Regions from separate parts of the Homo sapiens genome. Here regions 1, 2 and 3 are each linked to region 4. The links are contacts of gene promoters, found by promoter capture Hi-C in blood cells and fetal thymus (Javierre and others, 2016). All regions are on one chromosome and are shown on one strand. The core of a region is centred on a gene start or on the middle of the fragment in contact, and the rest is flanking DNA. Distances in the headings are between cores, read along the strand shown. Region 1 overlaps BID (BH3 interacting domain death agonist). Region 2 overlaps MICAL3 (microtubule associated monooxygenase, calponin and LIM domain containing 3). Region 3 overlaps MICAL3 (microtubule associated monooxygenase, calponin and LIM domain containing 3). Region 4 holds the start of USP18 (ubiquitin specific peptidase 18).

The links. Contacts are between HindIII fragments. The CHiCAGO score rates a contact against its expected background, and 5 or more counts as called.
Region 1: a fragment that was not itself captured here is called in contact with the fragment with the promoter of USP18 in region 4 in 2 of 17 cell types (endothelial precursors and erythroblasts); the score reaches 6.5 in endothelial precursors.
Region 2: a contact is called between a fragment that was not itself captured here and the fragment with the promoter of USP18 in region 4, in 3 of 17 cell types (M0 macrophages, erythroblasts and endothelial precursors). The highest score is 5.5, in M0 macrophages.
Region 3: a contact is called between a fragment that was not itself captured here and the fragment with the promoter of USP18 in region 4, in 1 of 17 cell types (naive CD8 T cells). The highest score is 5.7, in naive CD8 T cells.

Annotation. Positions count from the first base shown.
Region 1 is chr22:17,742,633-17,749,024 of GRCh38, forward strand. BID (BH3 interacting domain death agonist) reads right to left here. Exons shown (of 6, transcript NM_001196.4): 3 at 1,171-1,381. Among named protein-coding and RNA genes, the nearest start is that of MIR3198-1, 18 kb to the right of the region's middle. RefSeq lists a silencer at 1-85 and an enhancer at 1,663-2,283. The HindIII fragment of the contact is 5,764 bases long and covers 1,939-6,392 here.
Region 2 is chr22:17,819,256-17,826,253 of GRCh38, forward strand. MICAL3 (microtubule associated monooxygenase, calponin and LIM domain containing 3) reads right to left here. Exons shown (of 32, transcript NM_015241.3): 23 at 3,692-3,805; 24 at 2,775-2,915; 25 at 2,172-2,254. Among named protein-coding and RNA genes, the nearest start is that of LINC00528, 45 kb to the left of the region's middle. The HindIII fragment of the contact is 1,942 bases long and covers 3,325-5,266 here.
Region 3 is chr22:17,839,066-17,846,094 of GRCh38, forward strand. MICAL3 (microtubule associated monooxygenase, calponin and LIM domain containing 3) reads right to left here. Exons shown (of 32, transcript NM_015241.3): 20 at 2,757-2,952. Among named protein-coding and RNA genes, the nearest start is that of LINC00528, 65 kb to the left of the region's middle. The HindIII fragment of the contact is 7,527 bases long and covers 1-6,789 here.
Region 4 is chr22:18,145,300-18,151,839 of GRCh38, forward strand. USP18 (ubiquitin specific peptidase 18) reads left to right here and starts at 4,871. Exons shown (of 11, transcript NM_017414.4): 1 at 4,871-4,923. LOC124905076 (a long non-coding RNA gene) reads right to left here and starts at 3,915. Exons shown (of 2, transcript XR_007067999.1): 1 at 3,801-3,915; 2 at 1-641. RefSeq lists an enhancer at 4,612-4,931. The HindIII fragment of the contact is 4,848 bases long and covers 322-5,169 here.

The DNA.
Region 1 (6,392 bases), core at 3,571-6,070, 400 kb before region 4:
GGACCAGGGTCCGGGGATCCCTGCAGGCTTTCAGGGCAGGGATTCTACCTGCGTCAGAATCCTCTGGGCAGTCTCCCGCCCTAAAACAGCCTGATGCAGGCAGCTGGAGTAGGGCCCAAGGCCTGCATTTGGAAAAGGTTTCTCGTGTAATTCCAATGTGCACACTACTGAAAGCCAGCGTCGCAGGGCTGGATCTGGAAGTGGGTGAGCCTCCACTCGCCCCCAGCCTCCACTCGGGACAGCCCCTGTCCATAGAAGCAGCCCCTTGGCAAAGGGGAGTGGAGCTGGAGGCTGGAGGAGAGTGCAGGGATCAGCAACAGGAAAGGTGAACAGTCTGGAAACCATGGTGACCTGGAGTCAGTGCCCTACAGTGGGAGGGCGGCTGAGGCCCACCTCAAGAAGGGGCCTGGCCCCATGTCCCAGTGGTAACATGGCCACAAGCTGTGTGATCTGGAGCTAGTCATTTACCCTTTGCTGGACCTGGGTTTCCTCACCTGGAAATGAGGTTCCAAATACTTCTGTGTTCTTGTATAGGTAATCACGGAGCATAATGTATGAAAGGAAATATGTCAGGTATAGACAGTGCAAAAGTCACTGTGAAACCAGTGGGCCTCAATCAATGGGACAGTCAGCCAGGCCTGCTTGGGGAGGCAGGGGCCGCACCGGTAGTGCCACCTGGGGGCTTTGCCCAGACCCAGCAATGCCCAGACCAACCAATCAGAATCTCTGGAGGTGAGATGCAGGCACCAGCATTTAAAGCTCCAGGTCCTTGAAATGATACAAGGCCAAGTGTGAGAACCCCTTGGGTTATATAATCCAGACAAGTGGTCTGCAATCTTTGTATCAGAATCACATTTGGAAAATTGGATAAAAACACCATTCTATGTTGGTCCAGACAAGGGACTCAAGACCAGTACATGAGATTCTGTCTCAACAGAAAGGAAGAACTTTCTAACAGAGTCACCCAAAAATGGTAGGCAGTGAGTTCAGCAGCACTGGAGGGAATCAAGTAGAGACCAGTCAAGTGATTAAGTGATACCAGCGTACGTGGCAGCTGAAACTGCAGAGGCAGAGTGATCCCGGGGGTCCCTTCCAGCCCTGAGGCTCCCTGAATGTTACTGGCGACAGAGAAGCCCAGCTTTGGGGAAGGAGGTGGGGCCGGCCGCCTACCTGCCTCTATTCTTCCCAAGCGGGAGTGGCTGCTGCGGTTGCCATCAGTCTGCAGCTCATCGTAGCCCTCCCACTGGGGAGCCAGCACTGGCAGCTCGTGGCCCAGTGCGTCCAGCTCTCTGCGGAAGCTGTTGTCAGAACAGCTTTGGAGGAAGCCAAACACCAGTAGGTTTGTGATGCACTCATCCCTGAGGCTGGAACCGTTGTTGACCTGAGGGGAAAGGGGAGTCAGGAAGCCGGGACTTCAGCCAGGCCAGAGGCCCCTCCTGCAAAGAGCTCCAGTTGCAGCTGGCCCAAAGAGCCTCACAGGTCCCAGAGAGCTGAGGGACCCTGTGGGCTGGAGGGCCCTGCAGGAGGTCTCAACAGGCAGAGGCAAGGTCTGCAGCCACAGCTTTAAGCAGCACTGCCCGTAGATGGCAGGGAGCGAGCCCCGACTCTGCAGAAAGGGATTCCTCTGCAGAGGAATCTGCTGGACCTCCTGAAACACGCGGCTGGGGAGCTTCCCACTAGGTGAGAAGGCCACAGGCTGTTCCGGGGAGGCGAGCGAGTGTCATGCGGGCATCATCCGCCATCCTGTGCTGGCACGCTTTCTTCAAGTTCCCCTGCAGGCTTCAGCAATCTGAGCCCACCTTTCCTGGCTGTGCTTCCAACAGGCGGAGCCTCTTTCCGCTCATCTCCTTCACGGGCTCAGGAGGGTATTGGGCAGATGGAAGATTTTCAGTAACTACTGCGGAGTGGTGACCACAGCTGGGCACCTGCCTTTGGCCAAGCTTGGTTTACTTTGGGTGGGTGTGTCCTTAATCCGAATCCCACAGGGAGTGGTGGCACTGGCTCCTGCTCTACCCAGAGGGGCTGGGCTCTTGGCCGGCAGCTCTCCAGCTCCCTGGGCAGCACTGGCAGCTGCAGCTTGGCCAGCATCTGTGCCGCCAGAGATGGCAGGGACTGTTCTTGGGGTACTGACTGTGTTTGGGGGCTGTATTCTTACAGGCAAAGGTGAGCCCTGCAGCTGGGTGTGCCCAGACCAGAGAAAGACCTAAGGTGGAAGAGAGAACAAAACACAAAGAAGGGCAGGGACGCTGAGATCTGCGCAGATTCACACAAAAAGACCTCCTGGGCTGCCAGAGAAGGGTGGGAGGGAAGATGGAAGTGTAGGCAGAAATTTATTTCTATTCTCTAAGTCCATAATATTTTTCATTAGAAAAACCAAAAACTTTTAGAGGACAGTTCTTACAGGGCAAATTGTTTTTTTGTTTTTGTTTTTGTTTTGAGATGGAGTCTCGCTCTGTCACCCAGGCTGGAGTGCAGTGGTGTGATCTCGGCTCACTACAACCTCCGCTTCCTGGGTTCAAATGATTCTCCCGCCTCAGCTTCCTGAGTAGCTGGGATTACAGGTGTGCATCACCACGCCCGGCTAATTTTTGTATTTTTAGTAGAGACGAGGTTTCACCATGTTGGTCAGGCTGGTCTCGAACTCCTGACCTCGTGATCCGCCCGCCCCCCAACTCCCCCCAACTCCTTGGCCTCTCAAAGTGCTGGGATTACAGGTGTGACCTACTGCACCCAGCAGCAAATTGTTTTAATGCTTTGCTAGGTGATGCCTGTAATCCCGGCACTCTGGGAGGCAGAGGCAGGAGGATCGTTTGAGCCCAGGAATTTGAGACCAGCCTGGCAACAAGATCCCCATCTCTACAAAAAATAAAAATTAGCCAAGGTGGCATGCACCTGCAGTCCCAGCTACTCATGAGACTGAGGCGGGAAGGTCACTTGAGCCCAGAAGTTTGAGGCTGCAATGAGCCATGATCACACCACTGCACTCCAACCTGGGTGACAAAGTGAAACCCTGTCTCAAAAAAGAAAAAAAAAATGCTTAAAATAAGGAGCTTGGCCGGGCGCGGTGGCTCACGCCTGTAATCCCAGCACTTTGGGAGGCCGAGGCGGGCGGATCACGAAGTCAGGAGTTTGAGACCAGCCTGGCCAACATGATGAAACCTTGTCTCTACTAAAAATACAAAAATTAGCCGGGCCTGGTGGCGGGCGTCTGTAGTCCCAGCTACTTGGGAGGCTGAGGCAGGAGAATCGCTTGAACCCGGGAGGTGGAGGTTGCAATGAGCCGAGATCGCGCCATTGCACTCCAGCCTGGGGGACGAGAGCCAGACTCCGTCTCAAAACAAACAAACAAACAACAAAAATAAATAAATAAATAAATAAAAATAAGGAGCTTGTGTATTGCTGCAGCCATAAAAAAGAATAAAATCATGTCCTCTGCAGCAACACGGATGGAGCTAGAGGCCATTACCCTAAGTGAACTAACTCAGAAACAGAAAATCAAATACTGACTGTTCTCACTTATAAGTGGGAGCTAAACAATGGGTGCCCATGGACACGAAGATGGAGAGAGCAGGCACCGGGCACTTTACAGTAGGGAGGCGGGGGCGGGGGAGCGCAGAAAGAGTCCCTCTCCATGCGATACCGGAAGCCCAGTCCCCACCAGTGCACAATATTCCCATGTGACAAACATGTACACGTGCCCCTGAATCTAAAATAAAATAAAATAAGGTGCTTGTGTATTGCTATTCAGCCTTTACTTCTCCAAAGTTGTTTCTGAAGAGAGGAAAAACTGTATGCAAAATTCCACTGCATCAATTCCTAACAATTCTTGTACGGAGCAGCCGCATGGCACAAGACAGCTTACAAACAGGATGTGCTTCATTCCTGCCTCAAGCGACAGTCCTGGTGACACAGTTAGTGCTGGGCTAAGCTGTGTCACCCAAAAAGAAAAGCGCAAGTCCTAACCCCAAGTACCTGTCAATGTGACCTTATTTGAAAATAAGGTTTTTACAGATGTAATCAAGTTAAGATGAGGTCATATTGGATTAGGGTGGGCCCTAAATCCAATGACTGGTGTCTTTGTAAGAGAAAGGAGAGGGAGATTTAAGCAGAGACACACAGAGAGGACGCCATGTGAAGACAGAGGCAGCCACAGGAGCCAGGAGAGCGCCCCAGAAGGAAGCAGCCGGGCAACATGGGATTCCAGCCTTTGGGCCTCTAGAACCGGGAGGGGATCCGCATCTGTTGTTTAAAGCCACTCTCCTGCTTGGAACCGCCTACAGCAGCCCCAAGAAGCTAACGCAGGCAGCCGCTGCCCAAGGACTTCTTTTTGACCTGCGCTTGGTAAATTGGCATCCAGAATCTGGACACAGAGCGGTGCTGCCACCACAGCAGGTCAGGTTATCAAACTCAAGATCCCACAGAAAATAAAGACTCGAGGCGGCAGGGAGGGAGAGGAAAGAATGGCACCTGCCAGAGGAGGTCTAGGTGCCGCAAGTGACCGTGAAGCCAAGCACTGGGCCCACTGAGTGGACAGCTGTGTGGACAGGCTCCTGTCTGGACCAGTGCCTCAGGGACAGGCTGGGCCGGCCCTGCAGGACAGGAGTGGGCTCGGAAGATGGATGCCATTTAATTCCAAGAATAGGGCTTGTGCTGTGCCAATATGGAATCATGCCCTTTTTTGATCTTCTAGATCCACTTTGTTTTTGGAGACAGAGTCTCATTCTGTTGCCCAGGCTGGAGTACAATGGTGCCATCTCAGCTCACTGCAACCTCTGCCTCCCAGGTTCAATGGATTCTCCTGCCTCAGCCTCCCAAGTAGCTGGGGTTACAGGCACGTGCCACCACGCCTGGCTAATTTTTGTATTTTTAGTAAAGATGGGGCTTCACCATGTTGGCCAGGCTGGTCTGGAGCTCTTGACCTCAGGTGATCTGCCCACCTTGGCCTCCCAAAGTGCTGGGATTACTGGCGTGAGCCACCATGCCCAGCCTCTAGATCCACTTTTGATAAAAGAATTGATAGTTTTTTATCTTTTTAGATCACAGGAAAAAAATATGTTAAGAGAAACGATCAAGACAGTAAATCCTGCAAGACATGTTACAAAAATGATCTAATGGAGGCAAAAATAATAAGATCAGTTCCAGTGGAAAGGAAAAGATGGTGCTGGCCGGGCGCGGTGGCTCACGCCTGTAATCCCAGCACTTTGGGAAGCCGAGGCGGGCGGATCATGAGGTCAAGAGGTCGAGAACATCCTGGGCAACATGGTGAAACCCCATCTCTACTAAAAATACAAAAATTAGCCAGGTGCGGTGGCTCACGCCTGCAATCCCAGCACTATGGGAGGCCGAGGCGGGCAGATCGCGAGGTCAGGAGATCGAGACCATCCTGGCTAACACGGTGAAACCCCGTCTTTACTAAAATATAAAAAATTAGCCGGGCGTGGTGGTGGGCGCCTGTAGTCCCAGCTACTCGAGAGGCTGAGGCAGGAGAATGGCATGAACTTGGGAGGCGGAGCTGGCAGTGAGCGGAGATCACATCACTGCACTCCAGCCTGGGCGACAGAGCAAAACTGCGTCTCAAAAAAATAATAATAATAAGGCCGGGCACGGTGGCTCACGCCTGTAATCCCAGCACTTTGGGAGGCCCAGACGGGCGGATCACGAGGTCAGGAGATCGAGACCATCCTGGCTAACACGGTGAAACCCCGTCTTTACTAAGATACAAAAAATGAGCCGGGCGTGGTGGCGGGCGCCTGTAGTCCCAGCTACTCGGGAGGCTGAGGCAGGAGAATGGCCTGAACCCGGGAGGCGGAGCCTGCAGTGAGCGGAGATCGTGCCACTGCACTCCAGCCTGGGCGACACAGAGACTCAATCTCAAAAAAAAAAATAAAAATAAAAAATAGAAGTATCTACACAGAATTAAAGTTATGATGGGAAAAAAGGCTGAACCCTATAATTGAAAAGAAAGTTTCGGAGTGTTTCGCTGTGACCCCAGCTCTGTGGCCCTGGGCGGGCTGCCGTACTGCTGCCTCCGCTTCCTCACTCCGAAGGCAAGAAAGGGGAGTGGCGACGTCCACCCTCCCTCACTGAGGGGGCCGGGGAGAGGCGGGCGGGAGGGCAGGCGCCTCCTCCGGCGAGTCAGGGCGCTGCGCGGGTGACGGTGGTGTTCTACCTGCGGAGGCCGCCAGAGCGCGAAGCCGGAACAGCAGCGGCAGGTGGGAAGGGACAGTGGCACCCAGAGTGGTCTTTTGGACACTGACAACAAGCCTGGATCAGGGCCGGGGGAGCTCCTGCAATCTCCTCTGTTTATGTAACTAACATCAAACTCGAGCCACTGCCTCAGCCCTCCAGCCACCACGCTGAAATCCACACCGTCCCCACCTTTGGAAAGGACC
Region 2 (6,998 bases), core at 3,046-5,545, 330 kb before region 4:
GCTGTTATTAGAACAGCTCCAGGAAAACCCTTTCCACTTTCTGCTCCAGGTGTTCAGTGTTTAGAACCTTAGAACCACTCTGCTTAGTTTAGACAAACTGGGTTTTCAGGATTTGGTTCATCTCAAATACATCCTATATTCTTTGTCCACTCACAGGAACACTGGCCAAAAGGACATAGAGGAATGCAGTTCTCACCCTCCAGGAGGCCCCAGAGCGCCAAGATCCCTGACGTACGTACAGAGGGGCCAGGACTGTAAGAAGACTTACCACAGCTATTTATCACGGTGCATTATGATCAAATTGTCCTCCCTAGGAAGCTCAAAGATGTGCAGAGATTCCTGCACCAGCCCTTATATCACCCCATCCAAGAGCCTCAAACAAAGCCTCCCCATTTCACAGACGGCTGAGCGCAGTGGCTCACACCTGTAATCCCAGCACTTTGGGAGGACGAAGTGGGCAGATCACGAGGTCAGGAGATCGAGACCATCCTGGCTAACATGGTGAAATCCCGTCTCTACTAAAAATACAAAAACAAAATTAGGCAGGTGTGGTGGTGGGTGCCTACAGTCCCAGCTACTCGGGAGGCTGAGGCAGAAGAATGGCGTGAACCCGGGAGGTGGAGCTTGCAGTGAGCCAAGATCGCGCCACTGCATCCTAGCCTGGGTGACAGTGAGAGACTCCATCTCAAAAAAAAAAAAAAAAAAAAAAAAAAAATCCAATCAGTGAACAGGCTAGGTACAGTGGCTCATGCTGTAATCCCAGCACTTTGGGAGGCTGAGGCAGGAGGATTGCTTGAGCCGAGGAGTTGGGAGGCTGCAGTGAGCCATGATCATGCCACTGCACTATTGCCCATGCCAGTCTGGGCAAGAGACTGAGACCCTGTCTCAAAAAAAAAAAAAAAAATCACTGAATAGTTCCATGCTTCCTAGAATCCCAAAGACTAAATCAAGCAGATGCAGGCCTTATATTCCAGCTTTCTCCCTGATCTGACCTGCAGACAGTATTTCCCAAACCATGTTCCACAGGACCTGCTGTCACAGTTGGCTTTGCAGCATTCTCCATGTGGTTCACACACCACAGGCTGTCTGCATGGACGCTGTAAATTTCTTTTTTTTTGAGACGGAGTCTCGCTCTGTCGCCCAGGCTGGAGTGCAGTGGTGCCATCTCGGCTCACTGCAAGCTCCGCCTTCCGGGTTCATGCCATTCTCCTGCCTCAGCCTCCTGAGTAGCTGGGACTACAGGCGCCCGCCACCACGCCCGGCTAATTTTTTGTATTGTTAGTAGAGACAGGCTATCACTGTGTTAACCAGGATGGTCTCGATCTCCTGACCTCGTGATCTGCCTGCCTTGGCCTCCCAAAGTGCTGGGATTACAGGCGTGAGCCACCGCGCCTGGCCAGATGTTGTAAATTTCAATGGTTATACATTTATTTTAACATAATGTTAAAAATGCATTTGTCATATCAAACCAACCATCCCATCGATATTATTGCTTTAATTTAAACAAATTTATTTTTAATAAAATATCAAATGTTTTATACCATTTATCATAAAAATTATATTATTTTTAATATATTATAAATTTATAAAAAATAAATTTGTTCTAATAAATTTTAATAAATTTATATTTATAAACATAAATTTTAATAAATTTATATTTATAAACATAAATTTTAATAAATTTATGTTTATAAACATAAATTTTAATAAATTTATATTTATAAACATAAATTTTAATAAATTTATATTTATAAACAATTTTAATACACCTATGTTTATTATACATTTATTAAATATAATAAATTATTTATTTTTAATAAATTTGTTTAAATTAAACATATGGTGTGTGGTATGTGGACCTAACACAGTGACACGGGGTAGAGGACTCAGGTTTGGGATCAGAGTGGGGCAGAGGTAGTAGGTGCCACCCAGACGGCCTCATCCCCAAGAGTACTGAGCTGGAACTCCAAGGCCACTCCTGTCATCAACAGCTCCACTTAGTACAAGGAGGATGATAGTTTTCAGTCTTCCTCAGAATGAGGAGGCCAGCAGGCTATGTTAGCCCCAGTCTTGGTGGGACCCACACCATGGGCCCTGAAACAGAGAAGTTAATATGTGTCCTTGGGGTCCCATTAGTTCTCTGTACCCCACAGCGAGCCCCAAACCCTTACCTCTGTTGAGGGGCTGTGGACTGGAATGAACAGAAGAGCTGATTCCTGGGGAGACCGGATGGGGCTGGTGGCTTGGGAGGGACCTGAAAAGAATGAACACAGGGACTTACAAGAGGAAGCCCCCCCATGTGCCAGGAAGGCACCCCTATCAGCCAGCCCCAGAGGGTGGAGGGGAGGGTAGAGGGCGAGTCGCTGAGTCGGCTCCCAGTTCTCCTGGAAAGCACAGGTTCTCTCAGAGGCCAGGGTCCTGGAACCGTCTTCCCGGGGCTGCCCGGCACTCTCTGCAGGTGCTCCTGTCAACACCAGGTCAGGCCGTGGGCTTCCTCCATGTGCAGACTCTGCACACAGAGCTTCAGGACAAACCTTCTACCTTCTCCCAGACCCAAACTATGCAAGGAAAGGGCCTTTGGCCAAAGCAACTGCAGCAGCCTGTGGCACAGGGAGGGTGGACAGAGGAGGAAAAGGCAAGGAGCTGCCCACACCTCGGAGGCTGGTGTGCACCATGGCTCTGCTCTGAAGCGCCTGGCCCCTGAGCCACTCTTGTGTGCATATGGCCCTCGTAGGAATTCTGAAAGTTGTTTCTCCCATCAAAGACAGGCTCACCTCTCTCTTGGTGCTTCGGTGAGGCGGGCAGCTTCTCCTCATCTTCCGACACCCTCAGCTCCAGCTCTGCTTCCCCCTCAGCTGGGCACGGCAAACGCAGCTCTCTGTCAGCATCCGACGGGCTGTCAGACCAGTGCTGATCTGGCAGAGGGAAGGGGCAGAAGTGGGTGCACACCCTAAGTGAGGCCAACTCCTTTTCCACCTGAGAGCAGCCGCGCCACTTGCTCATTTGCAACACAGCTGCTCAGGTGCAGGCCTGGAGGCCCTTCTTACGCAGGGACAGACCTGCCTACCAGACCACCCCCGCTCCTGAGGGGCCCGGCCAAGAGCACCCTCCTGCCTTTGCAACGCGGGGCCGCATCAAAGCCTGTGGGGCTCTGTTTCTTTTAAAATACAGCAACAGTCACACATGATGGGCTGCGACAGACAAAGACAGGGTGTGCCTGTGGAGGGCAGGCCTGGCCTCACGGGCCCACTTCTATGCACCTCCTCCTCTCAGTAGCCCTGACTGCCACCCCAACTCCACAGCTGAGGCCTGCGCCCCCTCGCAAGCTTGGGTTCTTCTCATTCTTCCCAGCCTCGTCCCTGACCCCCTCAGCCCCCCACAACCAGACTGCGATGCAGAACCCATCTCCAGGTATGTAGCTTTGGGAGCCAGTCAGCAGAATTAAAGGCCTTGTATAAAGCCACAGGTTGGCTCAGGCACCCAGCTGCAGCTGGATGACTGCAGGCCAAGTCGCCTGGTGCTCGTGGGTAGGTGGTGGTTGGGTGGAATGAGATGCATTCCAGCCATGGTGGAGCCAAGAAGGAACCAGGAGGCCCAACGGCGGCCTCACTGAGCTTGATTTTGCTGGAAAGCATATTGCCTTCATCTTCCCTGAGCTCCCACCACAGGGGCGGGGAGGGCGGACCCCTACCATCATCCAGCTCAGCACCAGTGTCCCCTGGGTCCCCATCCTCTGCTGCCTCCCCTTCTATCTCGGCTGGTTCTGAGTCCACATCTTCCTCTAGGTCATTCTCATCCAATGGGGCTGCAAAGCAGAAAGGTTCAAAGGAAGGAAGAAAAGGAGGACAGACAGACAGGCTGCATCTTCACGGGGGCGAGAGGTACTGCCTTTCTCAGGGCGCTGCCATGCAGGCCCCAGGAGAGGGGAGATGCTGCCAGGCCCAGGGGGCTCTCCACACGTAGCATGGGTGCTGGGGGGGGCCCGGGGCCCCCAAACACAGGAGGTGGGCATTTCTCAATGCTAGGGGCCAAGTGGGAAGAGAAGAGCGGCTGAAGGTGGGGGCATTGTTCCTCTTCCCCCAAAGGTTGCTGTAGGAACCTCAGTTGGAGGAGGGTGGAAAGGGAAATGCTGTTTCTCTGGGCCTTGGCCCAGCAGCATCTGCCAAAGCCTGGCTGTGTGCTGACCGCCTCACACACCATGGGTCATTCAGCCCTCATAATGCAGGCTGAGCATCCTGAATCTGAAAATCCAAGATCCAAAATGCTCCAAAATCTGAAATTTTCTGAGCACTGACAAGAGGCCAAGTGGAAAATTCCACAGCAGACCTCGTGGTGACAGTCACACCTAAAATTGTTTCATGCATAAAATTATTAAAAATATTATATAAAATTATCTTTAGGCTACGTGTACAAGGTATATATGACACATAAATACATTTCGTGTTTAGACTTGTGTCCCATCCCCAAGATCTCTCCTTATGTATATGCAGAGATTACAACATCCGAAAAAAATTCGAAATCCAAAACACTTCTGGTCTCAAACATTTCAGGTAAGAAACACTCAGCCTGCAACATAATTAGAGGGACCGTTTCTTTAGCGAGAAGTCTGAGGTCCAGCCAGCTGAGGGGGTTGTCCACAGCGCTGTGTGCAGGGGCACCAGATGAGCTTCCCTTGCAATAATTTAGAGAAATACTAATACTTTGGGAGAGCATTGGGGGCTGAAGGTACGTAAAGTTCATCCTCTGGACTCCAAGTGGCCCTTCAGGGCTGCAAAATGAGGCAAAACCCTCGACAACTTCCCCTCCCCAGGAGCCGGCCCCTAAGCACGCACACACCGTCCCCACCTCCCACACTCCGAACTTGCACCAGCAGGAAGAGGGCGGCACGCTCTGCTCTGAGGACACTGTGAGACCCGCACCACCTGAGACCCACAGGACCACTGGCCGGGGGCCTGCGGGCTCTCCTAGGGTTCAAGCCCAGCCACCCTCAAATTACCCCTAAGGGTTTTAATTTCAGGAGAAAGGAGTTATGCTCTGATGTCCATATACAAGAGTCCGCACGGATCAAAGCCCCAGGCTGGGGAGCAGGGAACTGATGGCGCCCGGTTAGGTGGATTTCTTAAAAAGCCATGTGGAAATGGGAGGGCGCAGCCTCGGAAGTAGCATCTTCTCTCCACAGGCCAGGCACTTAGAAGATGCTGGCAACGTTTTATCCCTTGAACAGGGTGGCAGTTATATGATTTTCTGTTTCTTTAATAATTCCTTAAGCTTATTTTTATCTTTTATGCACAGTTTGTAAGATGACGGTTCAAATCTAGTGTTTGAAGAACTGTATGAAACAGGTTTGGAAGGGAACAGACGGCCCACGTCACAGGGAGAGATAGGCGGGTTCCCAGACTAGCTGACAGTTAGGGCCATGTGCCTCCCTGAGATACCAGAGTGGCCCACGTTGCTGGCCGTGCCAAATGCTATCCTACAGCATCGGCACCTGCTGGGGGAAGCAGGGGGGAAATGCCTCAAGTATTTCTATTGGTTAAAACCTCGGTGTGAGAACACTGCTTTTGGCCACTCAAGGAAGACAGTTCATCAAACACCAGGGAGTGGGACTTCTGGAGCAAAGATAAAAGAATTCATGGCTGCACTACACCGATTCTGAAAAGGAGGAACAAACGCCCCGTTTGGAACAGAATCTGGCCCATCCCATGGAGAGGGCCACTGTGCCTGACAGATTTGTTGGGGTGAATCTGGGTGCCCAGGGATCAATATGGCAACTCTACACTCTTGCTGGCGAGGGAACTGGAGGCCAGCACCAAGGAGACCCAAACAGGCCTCCCAGCCAGGCACAGCCCAGGGCACCCTGGGTTAGCCTGATCCCGCCCTGGTGCCTGGGTCCTTCACGCGGCTCTCCTGTAGACTTTCTATTAAGAAATGCCTGTGGTAGAGTCAGGCGGGTGAGAAGTCTACACTCCTTGGCAGTACCTTGAAAGGAAAAATCGTCACAGATAAAAAAAAATAAACAGGTGAGAAATATCAACGCAGCAGCAGCAGTGTTGAAAGGGACACAGCTTGAGGGGTGGATCTGGGGGTGAAATTCAGGTTAAGACGGAGTGCAGGGTGCTAGAAGCTGCCACGCAGGTTGATGAGCCACGTGCTATGAAAGCCAGGAGCCACTGACCCGCTCAGCTCTTGGTTTCCTTCAGCCGCCAGCTGGGAGGCTCTTGCCCCACCGCCCTAGGGACCCAAGCTATCTAGAAGAGGAGCCAGCCGTCTCTGCGCAAAGAGCAGTGGCCCTTCCCTGCGGCTGTGTGTGCCTGTTTCTCCCACTGCCGGGAGGACACAGGGACAGGCTGCTGAAGCCCCACGAGCTCCCATGTCCGCATCCCAGAAGTGACCGCTAGGACAGTGGTGCTGTTGGCGATAACACTGCCCTTCCTCCAGCAGTGTCTGACAACTCGTGGAGGGATTTTTGGTGTCTTCATAGGTGGTGGAGGCTGCACGGACACTCCAAGGGCCGAGGCCAAGAATGTTAAACCTTCTGCAAGGGAAAGAGCTGTCCTGCCCCAAATGCCAGTAGCCCCTCGGTGAGAAACACACACTTCCAGAAACATGTAGGAAGGACAACTCAGGCTGCTCAACGATCTCTTGTACTTGAAGAGACGCCTGCAGCTCGGGCTGGATTTGACTGGTGTCACCCCTGGTCACACCCAGCCTGTCCCCACTTTCTGCTGAATAGCACCCGCCCATCCTCTGCTCTTCCCTCTCCACCATCATCCTCCCATAAACCCCCTGGTTTTGACAGCCTCCTTCTCTGATAGCTTGGTAGGCTTGTGGAATATCTTCTGATTCCTCCCCTTTCACACTCAATCGGTAACCACCTCATTCTCAACACATTTTAAAACTCTCAGTGCCAAAAACGTTCCTTTGGCTTTGGCCTTTTTATCCGACTCTTATCAATAAAAACCTGCCTGTGTCTGTCCTGCCTGCCCTCACGTTTCCCT
Region 3 (7,029 bases), core at 1,776-4,275, 310 kb before region 4:
GTTCTCCTGCCTCAGCCTCCTGAGTAGTTGGGATTACAGGCAGGTCCGGATAATTTTCATATTTTTTGTAGAGACGGGGTTTCATCATGTTACTGCTGCTCTCAAACTCCTGGGCTCAGGTGATCTGCCTGCTTTGGCCTCCCGGAGTACTGGGATTACAGGCATGAGCTACCGCACCAGGCCGGGCTCTTCATTTTTTTTTTTTTTTTTGAGACGAAGTCTCCCTCTGTTGCCCAGGCTGGAGTGCAGTGGCACAATCTGGCTGACGGCAACCTCTGCCTCCTGGGTTCAAGCGATTCTCCTGCCTCAGCCTCCTGAGTAGCTGGGATTACAGGTGCGTGCCACCACACCTGGCAAGTTTTTGTATTTTTAGTAGAGACAGGGTTTCACCATGTTGGCCAGGCTGGTCTTGAACTCCTGACTTCAAGTGATCTGCCTACCCCAGCCTCCCAAAGTGCTGGGATTACAGGCATGAGCCACCACACCTAGCTGGGCTCTTCCCTTTTTTTTTTTTTTTTAAGATGCAGTTTCGCTCTTGTTGCCTAGGCTGGAGTTTGATGGCACGATCTTGGCTCACTGCAACCTCTGCCTTCTGGGTTCCAGTGATTCTCCTGCCTCAGCCTCCCGAGTAACTGGGATTACAGGCGACCGCCACCATGCCCGGCTAATTTTTTGTATTTTTAGTAAAGATGGGGTTTCACCATGTTGGCCAGGCTGGTCTCGAACTTTTGGCCTCAAGTGATCCGCCCACCTCAGCCTCCCAAAGCGTTGGGATTACAGGCGTGAGCCACCGCACCCGGCTCTTCACTTTTAAGAGACTGTTTTTCATTCTGTATAGCACTGAATGCTACTTTTAATTATCTTTTTTTTTTTTTTTTTTTTTTTGAGACGGAGTCTCACCATCTCCCAGGCTGGAGTGTACTGGTGTGATCTCAGATCACTGCAACCTCCGCCTCCCAGGTTCAAGTGATTCTCCTGTGTGAGCCACCGTGCCTGGCCTTTATTTTATTTTTTGATTTTAATTTTAATTTTTTTTGAGATGGAGTCTCATTCTGTCACACAGGCTGGAGTGCAGTGGTGCAGTGGCATGATCTCGGCTCGCTGCAACCTCCGCCTCCCAGGTTCAAGCAATTCTCATGCCTTACCCTCCCAAGTAGCTGGGATTACAGGTGTGCACCACCATGCCCAGCTAATTTTTGTATTTTTAGTAGAGACAGGGTTTCATTATGTTGGCCAGGCTGGTCTTGAACTCCTGACCTTAAGTGATGTGCCCACCTTGGCCTCCCAAAGTGCTGGGATTACAGGCATGAGCCACTGCGCCCAGCATGAATGCTAGTTTTAAAATCTTTTTTTAACTTCAATCTGAGTAAGATGAGGCATGTATTGCATTGCATAGATGCTGACTGATTTCATGTTTTCTGTGCTGCCCTCCTGTCATACCTGCCATAAATGCCAGGGGTTAGCCTTCCTGGAATGTCCTTGCTACATTACATGAACTTGCTGCCCCACTGCCTCTCACAATTTATAAATTACAGTGGAGAAAATGGTGCTGACCCACACTCAGCCCAAGGTCAAGCCAGTAGCTCTGCTCAAGGGTTTATAAATGTGTTTTGACACACAGCATCTCTCACCCTCACTGCAGGGTCAGTGGAGAGAGAGAGTGGGCTCCCCCTCATCTGGGCACAGTGGGGAGAGTGGGGCCTCCATGGGTGCTCTGGATAGGGAAGCAGAGTTCTGGATGAGGATGCACCATCAGTGACAGCTTTGGAACTGCAGACACCAAGGCAGAGGCTGCCCCCGGCATGCACGGAGGAGCGGTCTGTGAGGCAGCCCAAGAATGAATCTAGGCAGAGGGTGTCTGACATGAGGGCTGAGGTGGCGGGTGCAGCTGAAAGCAGCTCGGCCCAGCAAACACCTTCTGGAAAGCGTTCTTGGACCTTAAAAAAACTGCTCTGCTCTCCTTATCCCCACATGTTCCCTTCATCATGGCTAAATCAAGGTGTGTGATTCAAATGCTCTCCAAGGCCACTTGAGGCCTCTGCCCCTCGGGTTTGCAGCCTGTGTTTCTGTCCTGAAGCCCCACAGGACACCGGACCCCCTTTTGATTCTTGGCTCTCTTGATCATCTGTAATCGGCTGAACACTTTGAAGCCTTCGCTGATACTGGAAGCCCTGGGGTGCAGGGCAGTGGATATAGGGAGTCCTAGGGTTATAGCATGCACATCCCCAAAGGTGTCACCCAGCTGGATGTGATTACAGCTCTGGAACTGCCTAAGCATGCATCCACTGGTGCTGCATGCGGCCCCTGGGGCACACATTTTCAGTCCCTTTCTTTACCTACAGGAGAAAAAAAGATGCCTGGGGGACGGACTAGGCCTCCCTCAAGACGGCCCGGTGCACTGGTGGCTGAATCACCCAGAGTCCCTCCCCGTGTGCCCGTCCTTCCCTCTGCTGAATCTGTGAATAACCCGGGGGCAGAGCCTGCCACTTTCCTTCCCAATGACAGACTTGGAGCTGGGGACATGTCAGGTCCTCAAGGAATAAATACTTCCTGAATCTCTGAATTGAGTCTGATGGAGGAGTCCTCACTGACTAGAAGATGAGGCTAAGAACCTAAAAGGGACTGGGGAGAATGGACTGCGGGCAGCAGGAAAGACAGGAGGCCTCCCTTCACTGAGAAGAAACCGAGACACACAGAGGTGAGGAGGCTCTTAGGGCCGTGTGGCGGGTGGGCGCCCTGCAGCCCTGCGTGCTGACCTGCTGGCGACGTCCTCCTCGGCGCCCGTGTCCAGCACGCTGCTCAGGTTGTGCTCGGCCTGAGTCTCCTCCGGTACCTCCTGCAGTGCCTCAGCCTGCCTCAGGGACAGGCGGTAGTTCTCCAGCTCGATCCGCTCTGGGGTGCCCCTCAGTCGCTTGGCGATGCTGGGCTCCTCCAGGCCGTTCACGCCTGAACCTGCGGGACAAGCACAGAAGCACTGCACTGAGGTCCAACCACAGACGGGGCGTGGGGGTGGGGGCTGACACCCAGGCTGCAGGCCCTCCTGCCAGAATGTGGGGCAGGACAAAGGTCAGAGCATTTGCAGAGTTGCCAGAGGCCAGAGAAGGACCCTGGCATGTGAGAGGGAATTTCACTCTGCAGGAGAAAGGAAGGTGGCCCTGTCTGCCCTCCAGGTCAGAGCGTTCTCTCTCCTTCATCACCCTGAACCCGGCCCCCAGAGGGGAGACGCAGTCTCCCCACAAGAGTGACTGGTGGTGAGGGGTGTGGGCCAGACCGCAGGCAGCCAGGAGCCAGGTGCCCCTGAAGCAGCCTTGCCTGAGAAGGGCATCCCCGGTGCAGTCTGCCCCAGGGATCCAGGCCCCCACCAGGTGCCTCCCCCAATGCCTGCCCCGGGATCCAAGTCCCCACCAGGCACGTGCCCCACCACTGAGGGGGCCTGGCCAGCTGCCTGAAGAACGTCTCATGCTGCGGATCTGTCTCCTCACAGTTAGATAAGGCACTTTCGGTTTCATAAGGCCACGTGGGCGATGCTGCCCCTACCGCAGCACCGCTGCTCAGAGGAAGGACACCAGGCCCGACCGCTCACAGAGGTGGCACCCAGGCCTCTCTGCGATGCACAGGCACACTTCCCCATCAGTCCTCCGTGGGCTTCTGAAGCCACGGGGTGCCCTGCCTGCGTCCTTTCACCCTGTGGTTTCAGCATCGTCGGCGATCTTGGCCGGAGTCCTTTGTGTGCACAGGGCGTCACACCAGGTGATTTTAAAATCCCATCACTCTGGCTGGGTGCGGTGGCTCACGCCTGTAATCCCAGCACTTGGGGAGGCCGATGCAGGTGGATCACGAGGTCAGCAGATCAAGGCCATCCTGGCTAACACAGTGAGACCCCATCTCTACTAAAAATACAAAAAATTAACCAGGCACGGTGGCGGGCGCCTGTAGTCCCAGCTACTCGGGAGGCTGAAGCAGGAGAATGGTGTGAACCTGGGAGGCGGAGCTTGCAGTGAACCGAGATTGCGCCACTGCACTCCAGCCTGGGTGACAAAGCGAGACTTCATCTCAAAAAAAAAAAAAAAAAAAAAAATCCCATCACTCCTCCTCCACTACCATTCTTTGGTAAAGAAGCACTTTTCCCATTTTTAACTTTATACTTTCAAGTACTGCTATGGACTCGGATTTTTGAAAATGTGTTTTACAACTGTGCTTTGGTCTCCTTTAACATGGAACAGTTCTGCTGCCTCCCTTATCATCACCACTATTCTCTGTTGACGTCCCTTGTCCTCCTGATCCTGGTCAGAGGAGGCTGTCATGAGTCCTCTGGTGTGTCCCCTGTAATGTGAGTAGCACCGGGTCCAGGTGGAGGCGGGCAACCCCAGGTCAGATTTCCTCATCTTCCAGATGCCTGGCTCCACCAGTAGTTGGCTGAAGGGTCTTAGAAAATTTACAGAACTCCTCAGAGCTCGTTTCCTGATAGATAAATGATGGCACCACCCACCTCCCAGAGCCGTCATGGACACCGAGTGACACGATGCACACATACTCATGTGGGGGTGCGTGTTGACCCTGCACCCCACACACACGGTCACCTTCCTCTTCCACTTAACGCCTGCCACCTGGGGAGTGCCCAGGAAACATGAGTGAAGCAGCAAGTCTGGTGTCCAGTAATATTTCCCCACCACTGTGTGCATACTCCTGGAAAGCTGCATCCACAGGCTCTGGAGAGCGAACAGTCGTTACTGAGAAACAGGGCTGAGGCACAGTGCCATGTGGTAGCAGCCTGGTGTTACCAGACATTTTTTTTTTTTGAGACGGAGTCTCGCTCTGTCGCCCAGGCTGGAGTGCAGTGGCACGATCTCTGCTCACTGCAACCTCCGCCTCCCAGGTTCACGCCATTCTCCTGCCTCAGCCTCCCGAGTAGCTGGGACTACGGGCGCCTGCCACAGCACCCGGCTAGTTTTTTTGTATTTTTAGTAGAGACGGGTTTCACCATGTTAGCCAGGATGGTCTCAATCTCCTGACCTCGTGATCCGCCCGCCTCGGCCTCCCAAAGTGCTGGGATTACAAGCGGGAGCCACCATGCCCGGCTGTGTTACCAGACCTTCAAGGAGGCAGAGAAGGGGCAGAGGTGCTGGAGGGAGCAGGTCATGACTGGGCTGGCATCCTGGCTGGGCAGGTCACCGATTCCTGCAACATTCTAAGCTCTAGGAGACAACGCTGGGTTTTGGCATGCCACATCATACAAGCCAGTGTTGAGAGACAGGTGGTCCATCAGGCAAAACCTGGCTAAAGGAAAGCGGCAGGTGATTCAGCAATTTTTGTAGCACGACAGGTTGTGCACAAAGTGTTTTCTGAAGGCCTGCACTTCTGTTGTGTGCAGTGTTTGAACGTCTTTGTGGCAGCCTCAGACAGAGCTTTTAATGAACCCTGGTAGTCACAGGATAAGGTCTTGGCACATCTGTTGGAATTACTGGCATCCTCCACCAAATAGCATCTTTCGAATTCACTAGAGAATCTTTACTAACAAAGCAAGATCCAGTGGCGTATTCACATACAAATTCAGGTAATGGTGTGATGAAGGGGCAAAACACGAATACTTGAGTTCACTTGTGCCCTGTACACGTGCCCACTTGTTTTAGCCTTTGCATCCTTGCTGGGGGACCTTTTTAAACATCATGCTCCATTCTTCAACACCGAGCTCAGGGCACAAAAAGAATATGCTATGATGCTGGGCTAGGGCATCTTGAAGATGAGGAAATGTGGACTAGAGGTAATGGCAGAAAAGAGGCAGAGGGCAATCCTGATAGATCCGGCCTCAAGTTTCTCCAAACCTGCCCTCCCAGGCCTGGGACAGCAAAGGCCCTAACTGCACTAGCTCATCATTCCCAAATACCAGTCTTCCCATCCCTTCCTTCTCCTCATCAAAATCCATGGCGGCCACCCCATAATGAACAGGGGAGGGCTGAGGATACACTGTCTGTGGCGCCATTTGATTCTTTCCATCATTTATTTTTGACAACTGCCATTCAATGGAAAGCAGATGAGAAAGGGAGATAAAGTCAAGCAACTACCCAAGAATCAGCTTTCTGGGAATTCCATAAATACGGAACAAAAAGTGGTATTTCTTTTAGATGGGAGAAGAAAAACAGGATAAGAACTATCACTTCAGGGAAACAAACAACTAACAGCCATCAATTCAGAGGGAAGTGATTTTACAGTAGAGTGAACGAAACTTGGGAAGGAAAACATCCAAGAGGCGTCTGTTTGACGTGGGTAACGTGGGGAACGCATACTGTCTGGCAAGAATTCTACTAGGACCACGGGAAACAAAGCAGATTAAAACACTCTCTACTCTAAAAGAGCTTCAGTAGCACCTGGGAGAGGGCCCTGCAGGAATCCTTTCGGTACGACGTGTCAAGTACCATGAGCCACGTATGCACTCATGGGAGAACATAGAGAGAGTGAGTCAGCACACCTGGCAGAGTCAAGAAAGGTGTTCTGGAGGCATATGGAGTTAGCCGGCTGCAAAAAAAAAACATTCTGTGAGGTAGGCACTATCATTTGCAAATGAAGTAACTGAAGTTCAGGTCACACAGCTAGTGAGCCCTGGAGCCAAGATCTGAACATGAGGAGGAAAGGCATCACTCAGGAGATCACCATGCTGTCCCAAGACTTACAACAAGAAGAAAAACCAGGCACATGTTCGCAACAGCCCTATCTGCCTTCCCCTTTGGGCATCTTCACCATTGTCTCCTCCCCACTGTAATTTTCTAGGTGAGGGACACAGCACTTCATGAAAGCTTCTTGGAGCAGAGAATCTGGCATCTGGAATGACAGACACTCAGTCTTCCCACTGTTATTGCCCTGGAGATTCTGCAAATCCCGCAGACTAATGGGTTGTCAGGCAACAGAACTTGGCAGTCCAAGCCCAGGGCCAGAGCTCTGGAAGGGGAAATGCTGATTTAATTTTGGGCTTGGCTACAACCAACAAAAAAGAAACCAGAAGCACTGGGAACTGTTCAGATCCTTCACACGCCA
Region 4 (6,540 bases), core at 3,621-6,120:
AAATGCTTCTCAGGGCCCACACTTTCTTTTGAAACAAATATTACACAATTTCATTATAAACTCTTTCGCGCATGATTTTGAGAAATCTTTCCACCAATGCTTTCAAAAAGCACAATCTGTCTTAATAAAAAACTACTACCTGGTACTATTATTTTACATTTTAAAATTGTGAAACAGTATTAAGCCTACAGAAAAGTTGCAAGTATAGTCCAAAGAACTTCCTTCTTGAACTATTTGAGAGTCAGTTTTCCACGTGACATTGCATTTCTCCCAAATCCCCGCCTGTGAAGTTACTACCACCTAATCCTCAGACCCCATTCAAGCTTCACCCGTTGTGCCAATATTGTCCTTTACAGCCAAAGGATCCAGTTGGGGATCTCCTGTTCATCTATGACCTCTTTGGTCTCTGCCAGTCTGGAGCCGTTCCTCAAAGCTGTCTTTGATTTTCATGAATCGTTTGAAGATGGCAGACCAGCTGATCTGCAGAATGCCCCTCGATTTGGGTTGGCCAGGACCCGCGTCCTGGCGAAGGGGTTCCGGTTACTGACCTTCGATGGGAACAGCACAGAAGTGATACCGCGCTGGCTCCACTCTGTCCTCTGGTGGCACGCAATTCCAGTGTTCCCCGCACTGATGACTTTCTTGTACCGAATATTTACATTAATTACATTCTTTATAGTTATAATGTAATATTACATATGAGACCATGGGGTTCATCTGATTAGGTCTGCCCAATTTAGCCTGCCCTGCTTGCTTTGGGTCACTTGCTTTTGTTATTTTTTTTCTGTGAAGCTGAAGGCCGCGCCACTGAGCGCTGTAACTTAACCTTGCCGGCTTCCTTACAGATAACATGTATGTCACTACTGTCATGATCGTTCAAATTGTTTTTCAGGAACTTGGGGCAGCTCCTGCCTAGTTCAAACCAGTTGAGACCGTGAGCTTTCAAGTAGGCTTGTGCAAACAAAAGAAGTGGCCTTTTGACATCAGAGGCCCCAAGCGACACCCTCAGATCACGCTAAGGCTGTCATTTTTTGAACATGTGCCCTGTGAAGTGCCACGAACCCTGACTATGCTTGCAGTGGTCACCGACTGCCTCATTTTCCCCCACTGCCAATCACCTTTGCCCATACCTTACACCACCCTGCTTCTCTCACCGGTAAATATCCCTAAGACTTATCTTTGGGGAGGAAGATTTGAGAGCTGTTCTCCTGCCTCCTCACTGGGCTGCCTTGCGAATAAATCTTTTCTCTTTTACAAAACCTGTCACAGTGATGGATTTATGGCATGCGGGCAGAATGAACCTGTATCACATGTATGTAATAATGGTAATTAATAATATGTATTTTGTGGGAGAGTACTTTGAAACTGTGTAAATATCCTGTTTCTCATCAAACTTTTAATTTATTCAGTATCTACTTTTATTGGTATGAAGTGTGGCTTCCCATTTTATTTAACAGGTCGAAATGTTACTATCATCATTTCAGGCCAGGCGCGGTGGCTCATGCCTGTAATCCCAGCACTTTGGGAGGCCGAGGCAGGAGGATCACAAGGTCAGGAGATCGAGACCATCCTGGCTAACACGGTGAAACCCCGTCTCTACTAAAAATACAAAAAATTAGCTGGGCGTGGTGGCGGGTGCCTGTAGTCCCAGCTACTCGGGAGGCTGAGGCAGGAGAATGGTGTGAACCCAGGAGGCGGAGCTTGCAGTGAGCCAAGATAGTGCCACTGCACTCCAGCCTGGGCAACAGAGCGAGACTCCGTCTCAAAAACAAAAACAAAACAAAACAAATCATCATTTCTTTTAATGCTCAAGTTGTTCCAAATTTGGCCAGTGGGAGCATGGTCTTGGAGCTGGCTTCTGCATCGTTTTGAAACATCCCCATCATTCTTGGAGCATTCCCTTACTTGCTGGCAGAACAAGATGTCCTAGGCTCATCTTGTACTTTCTCTGCCTTAACCCCAGAAACAGCCATTTCTCCAAGCAACATTGGTTCCTTTTACTAGAGAATGGGAATTAGAAACCAAGATCTGGGTGCAAGATGTACTGTTGGGGTGTCACTGTTCCCAGGCCCCCTACAGACCAAGTCAGGGGATGTATGCATGTATACACATGTTTACCTCCACATGTACTTCTTTTTTTTTTTTTTTTTTTTTTTTTTTTTGGATAGGGGATCTCGCTGTGTCGCCAGGCTGGAGTGCAATGATGCAATCTTGGCTCACTGCAACCTCTGCCTCCCGGGTTCAAATGATTATCCTGCCTCAGCCTTCCGAGTAGCTGGGACTACAGGCGTGTGCCACCACACCCAGCTAATTTTTTGTATTTTTAGTAAAGACGGGGTTTCACCGTGTTAGCCACGGTGGTCTCAATCTCCTGACCTCGTGATCCACCCGCCTTGTACTTCTTTATCTATCTGTGTATACATACTGAAAATCATGGATCCACACTGCTAAGTCCAATTCCAGTTCAACACTAGTGGGCTCATTCTCCCTTTCCTTATTTGTAACTCCTATCTCTGAGAGTTTCAACTCTGGCTCCAATTATCCTTAATACATTCAGTTACCTGGTCATCCCCCTGTATGTAACTAATCTGTCATCTCCACCAGCACCCTGCCCTCCCTGGACACCACACACTGGGCCACTCCAATACCGGGATGTGCCACATCTTCAAATTGCTTGGGCTGTGACCCTGGGCCGGGCTGCACCAGCACCCATTTGTGTCTGACATTGTGCTGGGCAGCCCCACTGTGCTGCCACCCTCCTCAACCTGCTCCAGTCCAGCACCCTGCTTGGGCCACTGTGGAACATACTACACAAACGCCCACTTTGCTTGACACACCTGATGGCCTTAGCACGGAATTGTTCAGGAGGGTACCATGAAGGACGGAAGGAAGAGCCCCATAGAAGTGTAATGGATCCTTACATTATATAGTCCAGCCTCCAACCCAAGGTTCACCCTTGTCCATTCTGCACTGGGGCAGCAACACCAATTACTTTGCTCCACCGACCTACCAAGATTCAGATAGAATCATTGGATTGACTATTAATAGTTTTCTGCTGATAGTTGCTGCAAGCAACTGCAGCTTGCTCCTTAGCCTTCTACTGACTTGCTGTATTTAGCATATTTTATCAAATTTTGCAACCTCCTCTCCTCATTGCCCTCACTTGAGTTTTTGAGGTTCCTGTTTGTGGACAAGACTTACCAGATGTATGAAGCTGGTTATATAACTGATTGGTCAGCAAATATAATGAGGACGGACCCTGCGCCCACCACCGTGTACCTGTGTAAACACCATACTGCGCAAAGTCCACCAGCCTTCCAGGGAGAACATGCTGCACTGTGGGCGACACTGCCTCCGTTCCAGCAGCAATGTAAGCGGAGTCTGGGCTGACGATGGACGTGTGGATAGCCTGTATGTGTATATCTGTGCTCATGCTTCTAACACACATCCACCCTATTATGGACACGTTTATACATCTTCATGCCATGGTATTTTGTACCTTACTGCAGACCCTACCAACGCTTCAGTGAGGTTCTGGCAGCTTTGGGTTTTTGGAGGCTATTTGTCTGTTGCTGCGGGGACGGCTTTCAGAAAGAATGATCGCTTTGGGGGAATTGTACCCTGCTTTCCTGCGCAAATTCCAGCGGCTGGAGTTTGAGGCCCCTAGCAGATAACCCTTCTGCCCCTACCCCCATGAGTCTACATACAAGAAATACATCTCTAAAGAGGTAATAAGCCTTTCCGGTGTGCATGTTACAGATCTCTTAACCTTATATATACACAGATGGTCCATCACTTACCGTGGTTTCACTTACGATGTTTCGACTTCATGATGGGTTCACTGGGACTTGACCCCATTTTTTTTTTTTTTTTTTAGACGGAGTCTTGCTCTTGTCGATCTCTGCTCACTGCAACCTCCGCTTCTTGGGTTCAAGTTATTCTCCTGCCTCAGCCTCTTAAGTAGCTGGGATTAAGCGCCACCACGCCGAGCTAATTTTTGTACTTTTAGTAGAGATGGGGTTTCACTATGTTGGTCAGGCTGGTCTCGAACTCCTGACCTCAGGTGATCCGCCTGCCTCAGCATCCCAAAGTGCTGGGATTACAGGTGTGAGCCACCGCGCCCCCTGACCCCTTCTTAAGTGGAGAAATATCTGTATCTGCATGCCCACAGGGGAGCTCCTAATTACACCATGTGCCGCATCCAAGCCACAGGCCGGTGATGTGAAGACACCCGATCCAAGAAATACAATAGCATTAAGAAAGAAAAAATGCTGCCATGGATACTACCAAACGCCAAATGACTCTAACACGTAGGCTAATTGCAAGGACCTTAAAATCGCAAATAAAAAGGCGCCTGTAGGTCGGGCGCGGTGGCCCACACCTGTAATCCCAGCACTTTAGGAGGCGGGCGGATCACCTGAGACCAGCCTGGCCAGCATGGCGGAACCCCATCGCTACTAAAATACAAAAATTAGCCAGGAGTGGTGGCGCATGCCTGTAATCCCAGCTACTCCGGAGCCTGAGGCAGGAGAATCGCTTGAACCCAGGAGGCGGAGTTTGCAGTGAACCGAGACAGCGCAACCGCACTCCAGCCTGGACGACAGAATGAGACTCCGTCTCAAAAAAAAAAAAAAAAAAAAAAAGCGAGGGCTGGAAGTCTGGAGCAGGTGCGCGGCTGCAACGGCAGCCGCGGGAAGCTCGGGCCGGCAGGGTTTCCCCGCACGCTGGCGCCCAGCTCCCGGCGCGGAGGCCGCTGTAAGTTTCGCTTTCCATTCAGTGGAAAACGAAAGCTGGGCGGGGTGCCACGAGCGCGGGGCCAGACCAAGGCGGGCCCGGAGCGGAACTTCGGTCCCAGCTCGGTCCCCGGCTCAGTCCCGACGTGGAACTCAGCAGCGGAGGCTGGACGCTTGCATGGCGCTTGAGGCAAGTTCGGGGCTCATTTTGGAAGTTTTCTTTCTAGCACAGACATCCAACTCTGCTCCTATGCCAGTCAGATAATTAAGGAATTAAGTAATAATTGTGCTCTGCAAATTATGATAGTGATCTGTATTTACTACGTGCATATATTTTGGGCCAGTGAATTTTTTTCTAAGCTAATATAGTTATTTGGACTTTTGACATGACTTTGTGTTTAATTAAAACAAAAAAAGAAATTGCAGAAGTGTTGTAAGCTTGTAAAAAAATTCAAACAATGCAGACAAATGTGTCTCGCAGTCTTCCACTCAGTATCATTTTTGTTTGTACCTTATCAGAAATGTTTCTATGTACAAGTCTTTAAAATCATTTCGAACTTGCTTTGTCCACTGAGTATATTATGGACATCTTTTCATGGCAGGACATATAGATGTGTTAATGGCATTAAAAATAAAACAAAAAACTGATTCGGCCGGGTACGGTGGCTCACGCCTGTAATCCCAGCACTTTGGGAGATCGAGGAGGGAGGATCACCTGAGGTCAGGAGTTACAGACATGGAGAAACCCCGTCTCTACTAAAAATACAAAATTAGCCTGGCGTGGTGGCGCATGCCTGTAATCCCAGCTACTCGGGAGGCTGAGGCAGGAGAATCGCTTGAACCCGGGAGCGGAGGTTGCGGTGAGCCGAGATCGCACCGTTGCACTCCAGCCTGGGCGACAGAGCGAAACTGTCTCAAACAAACAAACAAAAAAACCTGATACATGGTATGGGAAGTACATTGTTTAAACAATGCATGGAGATTTAGGTTGTTTCCAGTTTTTACTGGCACAGATACGGCAATGAATATAATTTTATGTATACATTCATACAAATATATCGGTGGAAAATTCCTAGAAGTGGAATGGCTGGGTCAGTGGGCATTCATATTGAGAAATTGGAAGGATGTTGTCAAACTCTGCAAATCAGAGTATTTTAGTCTTAACCTCTCTTCTTCACACCCTTTTCCTTGGAAGAAAGCTAAATTTAGACTTTTAAACACAAAACTCCATTTTGAGACCCCTGAAAATCTGGGTTCAAAGTGTTTGAAAATTAAAGCAGAGGCTTTAATTTGTACTTATTTAGGTATAATTTGTACTTTAAAGTTGTTCCAGAAAACAAGGCAAATACTGAAAAGCATTTCATCTGAAGTTTCTTTCTGGTATTGAACAGAGTTGGATGGAGAGTGAATGCAGGTTACCGATGTGTTCGCAGGAACAAAACGGGAGGGAGAGTAACACAGGTGCACGGCTTCATATTGATTTATCAAAGAACTTGCTTTTGGACTGTTAAAAAATGTGTTGCACAGTTCTGACACTTTTACACAATGATGAGCTTACAAAGGGGAAAATGCTTAACATAAACATAGTTTCAAAGAAGGTAAGTCCTAGTTTTTCCACGAGCTGTTTTTTTTTTTGAGAGAGAGTAGTCCCAAAATTTCCCTATTATGTGGTTTTTCATCCAAAGTGTTGTAATCCGTGTGTTCTAACCCGCATATTACGATTACTCAAGAAATGCAAAATAGGCCGGGCGCGGTGGCTCACGCCTGTAATCCCAGCAATTTGGGAGGCCGAGGCAGGTGGATCACG